5 separate regions of the Homo sapiens genome follow, and regions 2, 3, 4 and 5 are each linked to region 1. The links are contacts of gene promoters, found by promoter capture Hi-C in blood cells and fetal thymus (Javierre and others, 2016). All regions are on one chromosome and are shown on one strand. The core of a region is centred on a gene start or on the middle of the fragment in contact, and the rest is flanking DNA. Distances in the headings are between cores, read along the strand shown.

Region 1 (2,700 bases), core at 45-2,544:
AAGAAGCAGAGAGGCTTAGTAACTTGGCTTTGCAGTTAGTAATAGAACCTGGATTTGACTTCAAAGTCTACACTGCATAATAAGGGTATATTCAACAGACTTTGGTTCTGCAATTATCTCTTTTTGCTCCTTCTTTGGAAATTGCCAAAGTTCCCTCTACTGGATTATTCCTTTAGCATAAAAACATGCTGTAATAATTTCCTTCTTAGACAAACCAAAAAAACCAAAAAGTCTGGCCAGGCACGGTGGCTCACCCCTGTAATCCCAGCACTTTGGGAGGCCGAGGAGGGTGGATCACGAAGTCAGGAGTTGAAGACCAGCCTGGCCAACATGGTGAAACCCTCTCTCTACTGAAAATACAAAAATTAGCTGGGTGTGGTGGCATGCACCTGTAGTCCCAGCTACTCGAGAGGCTGAGGCAGGAGAATTGCTTGAACCCAGGAGGCAGAGGTTGCAATGAGCTGAGATCGTGCCTCTGCACTCCAGCCTGGGTGACAGAGTGAGACTCTGTCTCAAAAAAAAAAAAAAAAAAAAATTCCTCTATCCTACATCCCTCTTTAGCTCCTTTCCTATTGTTGTTTTGTTTTGTTTTGTTTTTATAGCAAAACCCCTTTAAGAGTTGCCTATACTTACTCCCTCCATTTCCTTATTTTCTGTTTCTTGCTGAACTTCTTCTAATTAGGATTTCTTACCTACCACCATTTTCATAAGTGACCTCCATGACTCAGCCCTTACCTTATAGGATTTCTTGGCAGTGCTTGAAATAGTTGATCTTCCTTTTTGGAGCACTTCTTCATTGGCTTCTGAGACACCACACAGTCTTGGTTTTCCTCCTACCTCCTGCCAGCTCCTTCTTAGGCTCCATTGCTGGGTTCTTTTCCCCTTTTGCAGTTTGAGCGTGCCAGGGCTCTGTCCTGGGCCATCTTTATTTCTCTAAATACATTAACTCCTGGGTAATTTCATCTAGTCCCATGGAGTGACAGTTAATTTTATGTGTCAACTTGGCTAGCATACGGTGCCCAGTTGTTTGGCAGATAAAAGCATAGATGTTGCTGTGAAGGTATTTTTTAGATGTGACTTACAATGAAATCAGTAGGCTTTGAGTAAAGCTAGTGACCCTCCATAATGTGGATGGGCTTCATCCAATTAGTTGAAGACCTTAGAGAAAAGATGGAGGTTTCCCAAAGAGGAAGCAATTCTGCACCCAGACCACCGTTAGTCTCAAGATTGCCACATCAATGCCTGCTTGAATTTCCAGCCTATCAGCCAGCCTTGGAGTTTTCAGACTTATCAGCCCTCACAACTGTGTGAGTCAATTCTTTAAAAAAAAGAAAAGAAAAAAATCTCTCTATATATACATGTATCCTATTGGTTCTGTTTCTCTGAAGAGCTGTGACTAATACACATGGTATTAAATATCTTTTATGTTTGACACCAAATGTTTATTTCTAGCCTTGACTTCTCCCTTGAACTCCATACTTACATATCCAACTGCTTAGTCAACCTCTCCATTTGGATAATAATAGATCTGTTAACCCATACTATGGATTTGTCCCAAACTATTGTTTTCCCCCACCTCCCATCTTTCTTCCTCCTCTCTGGGTGTTCCTGCTTTTCATTGAAGAGTGCTATTATTTACCCCATTGCTAAAGCCAGAAATCTAGCGTTATCATTGATTCTCTTTCTCTTACATCTCTTATTCCATCCATCTGTACAACTGTACAACATATATCTGTGCAATTAGCTTTACCTTCAAATGTATTTTTTAACCTCACTAATCAGCCTTTATCATCTCTAGCTTGGACCAGGACAGTAACTTCCTAGCAGGTCTGTATATCTCCATATCTCCACTTTTTTTTTTTTTTTTTTTCTTTTTGAGATGGAGTCTCACTGTGTCGCCCGGGCTGGAGTGCAGTGGTGGGATCTCGGCTCACTGCAAACTCCGCCTCCCGGGTTCACGCCATTCTCCTGCCTCAGCCTCCCCAGTAGCTGGGACTACAGGCGCCTGCTACCACGCCCGGTTAATTTTTTGTATTTTTAGTAGAGATGGGGTTTCACTGTGTTAGCCAGGCTCATCTCAATCTCCTGACCTCGTGATCCGCCCGCCTCAGCCTCCTGAAGTGCTGGGATTACAGACATGAGCCACCGAGCCCGGCCATATCTCCACTTTTAAGTCCCTGCCCTCCTTAGCCTATTTTCCACACAACTGAGCAATTATTTTATCATACAACAATCATTTCCTTCTCTTCTCTTCACACTCTGGCATCTTACCACATTTAAAATGAAATCCAAAATCCTGACTATGGCCTGATGATGGATGTGACCCCTGGCTATTCCTCTGACCTCACTTCCTACCACTTTTTTTCTCACTCATTAGGCTTTAGACATACTGGTTACTTTGTGGATTCTTGGATAAGTCAAGCAGACTCCTAGCTTAGGGCTTTAGTATGTTGAAGCCAGAATAAAAATGTGAGACAAGTCTCTAAATTAAAATTTTTTATTTGGAAAGAAAGAATAGCAATTTGGGGCATATATGCAGACAGGGTGGTCTTCAGTATGTCTGAAGAACAAAGAGAAGGTTAGAGGTTTTAGAAACAGGAGAGCTGTTACATATTGCTCTTCAAGAAAGTTCTTTGGGACTAGTTAGGGTTTGGGGAGCTAGCAAGCTCTGGTGAGTGATGGCAGTGGGCAAAATTAGTC
Region 2 (2,700 bases), core at 69-2,568, 720 kb after region 1:
GGACAGTCCAGCAAGTAAAAAAAAGAAATAGTCAAATAAATTATCTGAAAAGAAACAGGTGACATATGTCTGCAAATTCTGTGAAAAAGAATGTGATTCACGGGTTCTTTTGCTTTTCAGGCACCTATGGTGCTTTTATATGTTAAAAACTTTAGACAAGTTAAATTTGACAGAGTTTCTTTGGGCAAAGAATGATTAATGAGTTAGGTAGCATTGTAAACTGAAAGGGGTTCAGAGACCTCCGCTCTACAGCAAGGAAAGTGTGCTTTTATCAGCTGAACACAGAAGTAGAGTACAGGAATAACTTGATGGGTTACAGCTAGGTGTTTGCCTAAATAAGGCAAAGAGGAGACCTAAGGCTGCCTGATGTCCCATAGGTATGGTCTGATCTAAGGAGATCTAAGGCTGCCTTGTCCGATGGGCTGAGGCTTGGCTGTTTGTGATTGGCCAGACTTGGCTATTTGTTATAAAAATACACTCCTGAGTTAGGTTTTGGTGTGTAGAGTACAGGAATAACTTGATGGGTTACAGCTAGGTGTTTGCCTAAATAAGGCAAAGAGGAGACCTAAGCCCAGCATGTCGTCCACTGTTTGGGATGCCTGCAAACTAACCATTAGCTCCTCCTGCAAACATCATGTGTTCTGTTCCCTTGAGAAATTTCTTTCATGCATATGGTGGCAGTGTCCAAAGAAACAATAGTGTCAGCTACAAATTGTATTGAATTTTCTGTAGTAGCAAAATCTGGAAAAATAGGTACAACATTCAGTTTTGTTTAGCACCATACATAACCCCCAACATGAGCAAAGAGGAGATCTAAGGCTGCATGATATCCCATTAAGTGCTTTTGTTAAATGCTTTCAGAGGGTGGCTCCTACCCCAGGAGGTCTGGTTGGTCATAAAATAAGATTTTTCCCTATCTGTGCATTAGTTTTAAATTCCATATGACTAGCACCCAACCACTACAAAGAGTGAGTCCCCAGGAGCCCCACTGTAATCTTTCCTCAGTGGAAACTAGCATATCTTTTTTTTTTTCGAGATGGAGTCTTGCTCTGTTGCTCAGGCTGGAGTGCAGTGGCGCGATCTCAGCTCACTACAAGCTCTGCCTCCCGGGTTCACGCCATTCTCCTGCCTCAGCCTCCTCAGTAGCTGGGAGTACAGGCGCCCACCACCATGCCCGGCTAATTTTTTTTTTTTTTGTATTTTTAGTAGAGACGGGATTTCACCGTGTTAGCCAGGATGGTCTCAATCTCCTGACCTCGTGTTCCACCCTTCTTGACCTGCCAAAGTGTTGGGATTACAGGCATGAGCCACCGTGCCCGGCTGGAAACTAGCTTATCTTTATTTTCTTCATCTATTCCAAGGTTGGTGCAAATTTCAATTGCTGACCATTTTAGACTCTGATAATAGGAGGTATTTATGGGGACTTTTGGGGAAGCTATTTGGAAGGCAGGATTGAACCATGCCAAATAGCAAGATCCTAACCAGTGGGGAGCAAAATGGAGTAAGCATATTTTCTGTAGACCAATACAGGCAGACCCTCTGAGGCTGGAAAAGAGGGCTACCTAGTGGTATTTGAGCATCAGTCAGTTCAGTTCATCCACTGGTACATCTGCATAGCTCCTGAACAAGGTCCAGGAGGAAACTTACTTTTTTATAGTTCCCCTCCTTTTAAAAAGATGTTTTACATTTTATTATTTTCATTTTTTTTTTTTTTAACTTTTAGGTTCAGAGGTACATGTGGAGGTTTGTTATATAGACAAATTGGGTATTGTGGGGGTTTGGTGTACAGATTATTTCATCACCTGGTGATAAGCATAGTGCCCAATAGGTAGTTTTAAATCTGCACCCTCCTCCCACCCTCCATCCTCAAGTGGGCCCTAATGTCTGGTTCCCTTCTTTGCATCCATGTGTACTCAACGTTTAGCTCCCACTAATAAGTGAGAACATGTGGTATTTTTCTGTTCCTGTGTTGGTTGCTTAGGTCCTGATCATCTGTGTTAGCTTTCTGCCTTGATGATCTGCCTAATACTGTCAGTGGGGTGTTAAAGTCTCCCACTATTATCTAGCTCTCTTTGTAGGTCTCTGAATGCTTGCTTTATGAATCTGGGTGCTTCTCTGTTGGGTGCATGTATGTTTAGGATAGTTAGGTCTTATTGAATTAAGCCCTTTATCATTATGTAATGCCCTTCTTTGTCTTTTTTTATTTTTGTAAAAGTATGTTTTGTCTGAAATTAAAATAGCAACCCCTGCCTTTTTCTTTCTGTTTGCTTGGTAGAGTTTTCTCCATCCCTTTACTTTGAGCTTCTGAGTGTCACTGCATGTGAGGTGGGTCTCTTGAAGATAGCATACCATTGGATTTTGCTTCTTTATCCAAGTTGCCACACTGTTTCTTTTGATTGGGGCATTTAGCCCATTTACATTCAAGGTTAGTATTGATATGTGTGCATTTGATCCTGTCATCATATTGTTAGCTGGTTACCATGCAGACTTGTCTGTGTGGTTGCTTTATAGTGTTACTAATCTACCTACTTAAGTGTGTTTTTGTAGCGGCTGGTAACCCAGTCTTTCCTTTATATAGTTAGCACTCCCTTCCAAAACTCTTGTAAGGCAGATCTGATGTTAACAAATTCCCTTAGCATTTGCCTGTCTGAAAAGGATCTTATTTCTCCTTTGCTTATGAAGCTTAGTTTAGTCAGATAT
Region 3 (2,700 bases), core at 115-2,614, 790 kb after region 1:
TCCCGCCTCAGCTCTCCCCATGCCTGTCCTCACAGTTCAGACCCTGGCTTCACTGAACTCCTTTTGCAAGTCCTTGACCAGGTGCTGGAGTCTCTTATCTCTGGGGCTTCACCTACTTGTCTTGCTCTCAACCTGGTTAACTCTTCTCGAGCAAAGCAGTGAGCTTTTCTAGGAAGCCTTTCCTAACATGCCTGAGTCTCAGCCTCCATGATAGCGTTTATCTTACTGCACTGAGAATGTTTATTCACTTCTCTGCACTCCCCATAAAACTGCAGGCTCCTTAGATCAGGCGCTGGATTTAGTGTCTGCTGCACAATAAATGCTTAATACATGCTGAGTAAAGGGGAGAGTGAATCACAGACCTGCCTCATGACCAAGGAAGAACCATGGGAAGCCCAGATTTATCTGTAATATCTCTTACAAAGGTAATAATCGGGGAGGGGGGTGGGGGGAGTGGTCCCTAAAACATACCTGTCCATTTATCTCTGTCCAAGCTCCAGGGACTTTATCATGACCTCGAATCCAGTTATGTAAAACTTCGGCAGACTGGTCCCAAGAAATCTAGGAAGGCACAAAATACAGGCTGAGCCTCCTATGGCTGTGAACCTCAAAGGCAATAAAAACGCTTCTCGTCATCAGAGGCAGAAACACTTGTTATTGGGAAATAAAGGAATTTTTGCTTCTTAGTTTTATTTGGAGTAAGTATTTTGTCAGGTGGCTGATTTAGTAAACAAGAGACTTTATTAAAGGAAAATAAAAAGCAGAGGGTTATTTAAAGGGACAGTATGCTTTGTAAAGATGAAGTAGAGCGGGCTGTTGAGGGGAGTAGGCCAGTAGCTGTTGGAGAGTTTTATGTTGGGTTTTTATTAGGTTGAACTTTTTTTTGAAGTTCCCACCTCTGTTAAGTCTCTGCCTCTTTTTTTTTTTGTCTAGTTTGTTTGTGTCTGTCTTAGCTCTCTGCTTTGTCCGCACCTAGATTTTGTCTCAGGTTTATGGGACCCTCCATATTATTAGTTGGTGTGTATGTGTGGATTGGTGTTGGATATGAATATTACCTGATGCCTGTGTTGTTTACTATTGTCACTGCAGGGAGGTTGTATAGTGGCCAAATCTATACCTACTGCATCTGTGTGTTTTTTTGGAATTTCCTTCTCTGCCCTAAGCTGAACTTATGGCTCCAGGTTTTTGTTTTTTGTTTTTTGAGACAGGGGTCTCACTGTGTTGGCCAGGCTGGTCTCGAATGCCTGGTCTCAAGTGATCCTCCTCCCTCAGCCTCCCAAAGTGCTGGGATTACAGGCATGAGCCACTGTGCCCAGCGCACCTAGCATGCCAGATTTTTTAAGGAATATCCCCTTTGCCCTTTTCATTAGCATGTAGCTAGTGATATTTTGACATTTTAACTGCAGAGCGAAGGATTGTTGGGCAGACTGAAGAGGCGTTTCTGGGCATTTTTTATTTGCTTGTTTGTTTGTTTGTTTGCATAGTATCTCCTCTCCTTTCTATGCACATTTGACTAAGTGCCCACCCACTCCAGCATTAGAGATACTATTAATATGCAAATTTTGAGTGGTCTTCCAGACACGAGTCTTCCTAGACTTTATTTTCTTTAGGGGACTCCCCTCTCCTGCGTATGTCTGGCTACCTGTCTACTCTAACAGGTAGGGCTAGGGCAAGCTGGCTTACCTTTTGGCAAGATCATAGTATGTGGGGAACTACTGAAGGGTAGAGGGCCATGAACTCTGAGACGTGTTATTGAGTTGATATATAAATACCTCAGCATTTTCCTTTTTCTGGATACCTTCATATGTTGCCCCTTCTTCTGGCTGGGGTATACGAGGAGCTTTTCCATCAGCTATGAGTTGGACAGCTTCTACCTAAGGCCAAAGACATCACCTGTGTTACAGCCCAATGATCAACAATGGCATGGTCTATTTGACTAAAGTTTCTGCATAACAGAATTACTACCTATAAACCTGTTCAGAGAGTCAAGAGTATGATGATAACTACCATTTCTTCAGGTCCATCCTGACAAGCAGTGTGGTAGCTACTTTATGTAAAATATCCCTTGAAAACATAACACAAATCCTGCAAGGTGTATATTGTTATTCCTGTTTTACACCTGAGGAAACTGACAGAAAAAGAGCTAAGCAAGGCCGGGCGCAGTGGCTCACGCCTGTAATCCCAGCACTTTGGGAGGCCAAGGCAGGCGGATCACGAAGTCAGGAGATCGAGGCCACGGTGAAACCCCGTCTCTACTAAAAATACAAAAAATCAGCCGGGCGTGGTGGTGGGCGCCTGTAGTCCCAGCTACTCAGGAGGCTGAGGCAGGAGAATGGCGTGAACCCGGGAGGCAGAGCTTGCAGTGAGCCGAGATCACACCACTGCACTCCAGCCTGGGCGACAGAGCGAGACTCTGTCTCAAAAAAAAAAAAAAAAAAAAGAAAAGAAAAAGAAAAAGAGCTAAGCAATTGGCTGAAGATCACAGAGAGAGCTTGTAGGTGTCAGAAACAGGATTTGTATCCAGGTCTATCTATTGCCAATCGAAGTCTGCACTCTCAAAAATGACTCCCTTGTTTAAACAAACTGCCACCTCCCTTAGTGATTCACTGGAAATGATAGGAATATAATGATAAAATAAGTCTTTATGAGTTATTTTACTCATCATGATGATTCTAAAAAATGATACCTTACTGTATTTAA
Region 4 (2,707 bases), core at 14-2,513, 830 kb after region 1:
ACAAGTATTGACTTTTAATTCCCACCACAATCCTATAAAGTAGATACAATGTCATCTCCATTTGTAAATGAGAAAACTAAGGCATAGAAAAGTTAAGTAACTTAGTCAAGTAAGTGACACATTTAGTTAAATAATGAATATCAGGCAGCTTGACTCCAGAGCCTGTGCCCTTATCCAATACCCTGAACTGCCTCACAAATACTTTATATATTTGTAAACTGAAATTACTTTCCTTTGACTTCTTTTCTTGCAGGCTGGATAGACTTAGTCTTACTTTAAAAATCATCCCCCCCCAAATTTGTAATTGTCTCTTTTTGTTCCTCAACACTTCTGTGAGAATCATTGTATGTAAGTTATAGGAACTCTACTAGGAAACTGTCATTCTCAACCTGTACTATCTCTGAGGGTAATAAGTTTCATATATCTGTCACTTGGCATTAAGTAATACATGTTGATTTTTTAAACAGATGCTGTTGGGCTTTCTCGCCATTAAGTAATACTTGTTGATTTTTTTAAGACTTGCTGTTGGGCTTTAAGGGCCTCTTCTAGATAGGATTATAAAATCTGTTTTTTTTCTCAACTCTCAGATTTTATAAAAGGGTGAAATCATCTCTTAGTTTTTATCTTCCCCTACAGAAGCTTTCTAATCTTTACAATCTTATTATATGACAGACTCCATCTCCGCAGTTGCTCTCTTCGGAACCTCTGTTTAAGTTCTATTATTGGGCAGTTATTTTATTGTTTTTACTATACAAGGTTCTTAGTATTTTGGGAAAAACCACAAACTCAGATAAAACCTCTGTAAACAAAAATTACAACCTAATGAGAAAGGGTATATAATAACTTACTTGCATAAATAGTTAGTTAGTATGTAACCAGAAGGGAGATCTGAGATTTCACTTGATAAATAGATCACATATAGTCAATGATCAGGAAGAGGTGGAAATTGAACGGGCTTTAGGAGTGAACTCCACATACTATTTTAAGTGTTTCTGAGCATGGATTTATACAAGAAAAGATGTATTTTCTGTCTTGTTTCATTCTTAATTTATTTTGACCCTTTAGCTACAATATCTTATTAAATTTGTGGCTGCATAGAAAATTCAAAAATGATGAAAGGTTTTTCCCCATGATCATAACTAATGGAGTTTAATAATGTTACTATTACCTTATTACCTTGCATTTTCTTATACTGCACTCATAATCAGCCACCTTATGCTCCATAGGACAAGTAGAGTCGTGATTGTGTCATGTTGGGCCATTTCTTTCCTTACGTGTTGTCTAATGAGATTGTTTTGGATGAAGTAGTTGATATGGTGCTAATGTTGAGTACAGGATCTAACACAAGTTTAAGTCGAATAAAGCTAGCCTCAATTTGTGTTTTTAAAATTTCAGTTATTTTTCAAATTAAAAGAAATGTTCTTTTCCTTTGTTTCTGTAGCTTTTGCCTTATGAACAGTCCTCTCTTTTGGAACTCATAAAGACTGAAAACAAGGTACAGAATCCTAAATCTAAAAAATTGTTTTAAAAATGTTTTAGTTATCTGTAACAATTTACTTTTTATTTTGTTTTTACTCATGAAACTAGGTCTTAAACAAAGTCATCACTGTTTATGCTGCACTTTGTTGTGAAATCAAGAAATTAAAATATGAGGTAATTATTTGAATTCTTGTCTTAAAACTTTAAAAACATCATTTAGAAGCAAGTATGTGTTTATATATGTACAGTGTGCAATAAATATTTATTGAATGTTGAATGAATTATTTATTTAACGTAATACTAATACGGACTACCATTCATTGAGTACTTAGTATGTACAAAACACCAGGCTAACACTGTAATCCTTATAGTAACCCCAGGAGGTAGGTGAGACATTGATGAGGAAACTGAAGCTTAAAGAGAGTGTCACTTGCATAACATCTTACTGGTAGTCAACAGTTTGAATCTAGGTTTACAAACCTCCAGAGTTTGTGTTACCTGCCATATATACTGGCTATCTAGAGAAAACTGATTTTTTTTTCTTAAAATGCATTTAGTTTTGTGTTTCCTTACCCAAGAACCATTAAAAGTCTGGTAGAAGTTGACAAACTTCGTATTTTCTTCTCCTGCTTTTTGATACCATGTGGTTGCTCTTTATTTCCCATAAACTAATGGGAGGATGTGGGACAGTGAGGGTGGTCAGATAAGATGAAGTAAAGGCTAAAGGAATCAAGATACAGCTTTGAGTATCAGTAATATTTTTGTTACTCTAAAGATGAATTGCTTTATAAACAGATTTTGAATTTAAATGAATTTGTATGCAAATGATGTAGCCCTCTGTTTATTACTAAGTATACAGATCTAAGAGAGCATAGGAATTTGGAAACAAAACAACCTTTAAAATTATTTTAATTTTTTTCTTAAAAACAGGCTGAAACTAAATTTTACAATGGTCTCTTGTTTTATGGAGAAGGAGGTAAGTTTAAAATTCCAAATTGTGATGCCTTTTTGATATTGAAATGAACAAAAAGTTAACAGACAATTTTAGGACTACTATGATTATATAATAGTGTGAGAAAAATAAGTATTCATATTTTTTGTTGGTATGTTTGGTAAACAGGTAAAAAAGCTGAGGAAGCAGCAGCAAATTTGTGATATCTTTGTACTTTACGAAGTACTGTAGGTAGATGAGAATTTTCCTTGAATTCATTAAATAGTGAAGCAAATA
Region 5 (2,700 bases), core at 138-2,637, 550 kb after region 1:
TATGGATTTAGAAAGGTGTCTCAATTTGAGACCTTACAACCTAAGCTATAATAGCATAATCACACATAACAAAAATGCAATCACGAGGCTGTTAAAAAATAATCTCAAAAATTCACCTGCTTTAACTTCCTATCTTAAGGTAAGCATATTGATCAACTCCAAAAGTTAAAGGAGCTGTTTTTACAGCTAGAAAAAAAATTCTAGGAACTATAGGCCCTCCCTTCATATCTCCTTTATCATTCTCTTTATACTTCTCCTTCAACCCAAGCTGACAGACAGAGAAACCAATTAAGAGACAGAGGCAGAACAGTCACATAGACAAAATAAAGAGCTCCTACTTTCAGTTAGAATCTGGTAGAATTAAATCCTGAGGAGTGAGAAGAAATATGAAGATTAAGTAACCTGTTTAAATCTCCTGGTTGCTTAGGTTTTTCCTTTGAGATGCCATCTGGGAACAGGGTTTGAGTTAGCATCATGATTTAAAAAAAAAAAAAGACATAACTACATCATTTAATGAGGGCCTACTATGTGTCAAGTATTTAAATATTATAACTGCTGTGCAAAAAGGAAGCCTTATCATTTTATATGCAAAGAAAATAAGACTCCAAGGAATAAAGTAACTTGCCTGAGGCCAAGCTAATTAACTTGCTCAGCTACTGGGTAGTTATCCTGGGATTCCAATTATAGTCATGTTGTTACCATATGGCTACATTCTTCCTTATCTAGAAAAGTGACTCCAAGGAATGGAGTAAGGTATCAGAATCAAGGTAGAGACTCTTAATGCTGGTTTCATAGGTTCTGATTGCTCCACTGCCACCCTAAGAGAGTCACTGTCCCAGTAATCCATAGCTATTGATGATGATGATGTTGATATTAAAAAATAAGACAATAATGATGAAAATAATAGCACCTTAAATGCATCATTTCATCCTTATAACAACCCACAAGGTTGGTCTAGTCTTAGCCCCTTTATACAGGTGGGAAACAGTGCCTGAGCAGTGACTGCCTAGCTGATGCAGGTATTTGATGGTGGAAGCCAGAGCCCAAGCCCTATAAATTATCTCACACTGCATCAGAGGAATGTGTCAGATCTCTCAAGTTTGTTGGGAGTGGAAAATAGTTGAAAATCACCACTCTATAGAATAAACTAAACTCTTTATCATCTGTTCTTTAAGCTCCTTGATGATCTTGCTACAACCTATAATTTCTAACCTTATTTTTCATCACTCCTTTTAACTCCAGGAAATTTCTGGCTGTTTTCCATAAATACCCTGAGTTTTTCTCATTTGCCTAATGCTACTCCTTTTAGCTGAAACGGCATTTTCTATGGATTCCAACAAAGCAAATTGTTATCCACTATAAAACTTCCTCCCCACATAGAAAAACCTCTCCCACTATTGAACTTCCATAGCAGTTTGTCCTTCTCTCAGAACATTCAGGAGATATTTATGTGCTTGGAATGGATTCCTACTTGACTTCAGTAGGCATTGATTCGGTATGGATCCTGTGGAATGAATATCCTTCTGGGGCAATATGCCTGGCTGGAAGAAGTTGAAGATCTAATGAAACCACAGAGAAGAGGCAGCTGTAAATCTTTAGAAGTTGCCATCCTAAAAACTATGATCCTCACTAAGAGCAAAACAAAGCATCATTTTTTTTTTGAGACAGAGTCTTGCTCTGTTGCCCAGGCTGGAGTGCAGTGGCATGATCTCAGCTCACTGCAACCTCCGCCTCCTGGGTTCTAAGTGATTCTCCTGCTTCAGCCTCCACAGTAGCTGAGATTACAGGCACAAGCCACCATGCCCAGCTAATTTTGTATTTTTAGTAGAGATGGGGTTTCACCATGTTGGCCAGGCTGGTCTCAAACTCCTGAGTTCAGGTGATCCATCCGCCTTGGCCTCCCAAAATGCTGGGATTAGAGGTGTGAGTCCCACACCCAGCCCCAAACTTATTCTTATAAAACACAGTGGTTAGGAATGTAGACTGGAGCCAGTCTCCATCTTGCTGTGTGGACTTGGACAAATCACTTAACTTCTATGCCAACTGCCTCATCTGTGAATAGGAAATGATAACAGAACCTTCCTTACTGGGCTGTTGTGAGGACTCAATCAGTTCATATACATAAAGTGCCTAGAACATTGTATGGCTCATGATAAATACTATACAAATATTTGCCATTATTATTTTTGAAACTCATATGTAGATTGGAAAAGTGGCTCCAGTTCCAAGAGGGGAACTGTTAGAGATCAAAAACTTTCAGAAGAAACAATTTAGGTGAAGCATATAAAATGGCTTATATATAAATGAAGCAGTACCATTTTCCTCTGAAAAGTTACAGATCAAGAGAAGATATAACTGAACACTATAAAATAATAAATCAAATGATGGCAGAGATAGGTGAATATACACTTTCTAGGTAAAGTACAGAGACAGTAGAACCAAGGAGTCCATCTGGAAACCTGAAGGAGATTGTTTTAGGTCAAACAAATTTAAAAATTGATAGTGTCTAATAGATGAATTTAAAATTAGCTATTTAGACTTGGAATACAATTGTTTTCAGGAAAACAAGGTTTTCTGTATTGCCTGGGTTTTCTGGCTAATCCATACAAGCCAGTTTAACTTAATATTACTCTAGGAGTAACAACAGATGATTTTAATATTAATAGACTATTTTAATTGCCAGATTGTTTTAGTATTAAC

The links. The method cuts DNA at HindIII sites, captures the fragments that hold promoters and counts their contacts. A CHiCAGO score of 5 or more calls a contact.
Region 2: a contact is called between a fragment that was not itself captured here and the fragment with the promoter of TXNRD1-AS1 in region 1, in 2 of 17 cell types (monocytes and fetal thymus). The highest score is 6.2, in monocytes.
Region 3: a fragment that was not itself captured here is called in contact with the fragment with the promoter of TXNRD1-AS1 in region 1 in 2 of 17 cell types (total B cells and naive B cells); the score reaches 7.7 in total B cells.
Region 4: a fragment that was not itself captured here is called in contact with the fragment with the promoter of TXNRD1-AS1 in region 1 in 8 of 17 cell types (neutrophils, fetal thymus, total CD4 T cells and 5 more); the score reaches 9.4 in neutrophils.
Region 5: a fragment that was not itself captured here is called in contact with the fragment with the promoter of TXNRD1-AS1 in region 1 in 1 of 17 cell types (neutrophils); the score reaches 6.3 in neutrophils.

Annotation. Positions count from the first base shown.
Region 1 is chr12:104,279,549-104,282,248 of GRCh38, forward strand. It overlaps TXNRD1-AS1 (TXNRD1 antisense RNA 1), which reads right to left and starts at 1,295. Exons shown (of 2, transcript XR_007063431.1): 1 at 736-1,295. All of the region lies in intron 3 of TXNRD1 (thioredoxin reductase 1), which reads left to right. RefSeq lists a silencer at 2,523-2,700. The HindIII fragment of the contact is 3,745 bases long and covers 1-2,700 here.
Region 2 is chr12:104,994,666-104,997,365 of GRCh38, forward strand. It overlaps NOPCHAP1 (NOP protein chaperone 1), which reads left to right. Exons shown (of 4, transcript NM_152318.3): 4 at 1-2,700. The coding sequence ends at 31. Among named protein-coding and RNA genes, the nearest start is that of NOPCHAP1, 9.7 kb to the left of the region's middle. The HindIII fragment of the contact is 2,723 bases long and covers 1-2,680 here.
Region 3 is chr12:105,064,796-105,067,495 of GRCh38, forward strand. ALDH1L2 (aldehyde dehydrogenase 1 family member L2) reads right to left here. Exons shown (of 23, transcript NM_001034173.4): 5 at 1,773-1,874; 6 at 472-561. Among named protein-coding and RNA genes, the nearest start is that of ALDH1L2, 18 kb to the right of the region's middle. The HindIII fragment of the contact is 7,481 bases long and covers 1-2,700 here.
Region 4 is chr12:105,112,775-105,115,481 of GRCh38, forward strand. It overlaps WASHC4 (WASH complex subunit 4), which reads left to right. Exons shown (of 33, transcript NM_015275.3): 3 at 1,442-1,495; 4 at 1,588-1,653; 5 at 2,410-2,455. Among named protein-coding and RNA genes, the nearest start is that of WASHC4, 6.4 kb to the left of the region's middle. The HindIII fragment of the contact is 1,253 bases long and covers 638-1,890 here.
Region 5 is chr12:104,834,201-104,836,900 of GRCh38, forward strand. All of the region lies in intron 10 of SLC41A2 (solute carrier family 41 member 2), which reads right to left. Among named protein-coding and RNA genes, the nearest start is that of SLC41A2, 120 kb to the right of the region's middle. The HindIII fragment of the contact is 4,028 bases long and covers 1-2,700 here.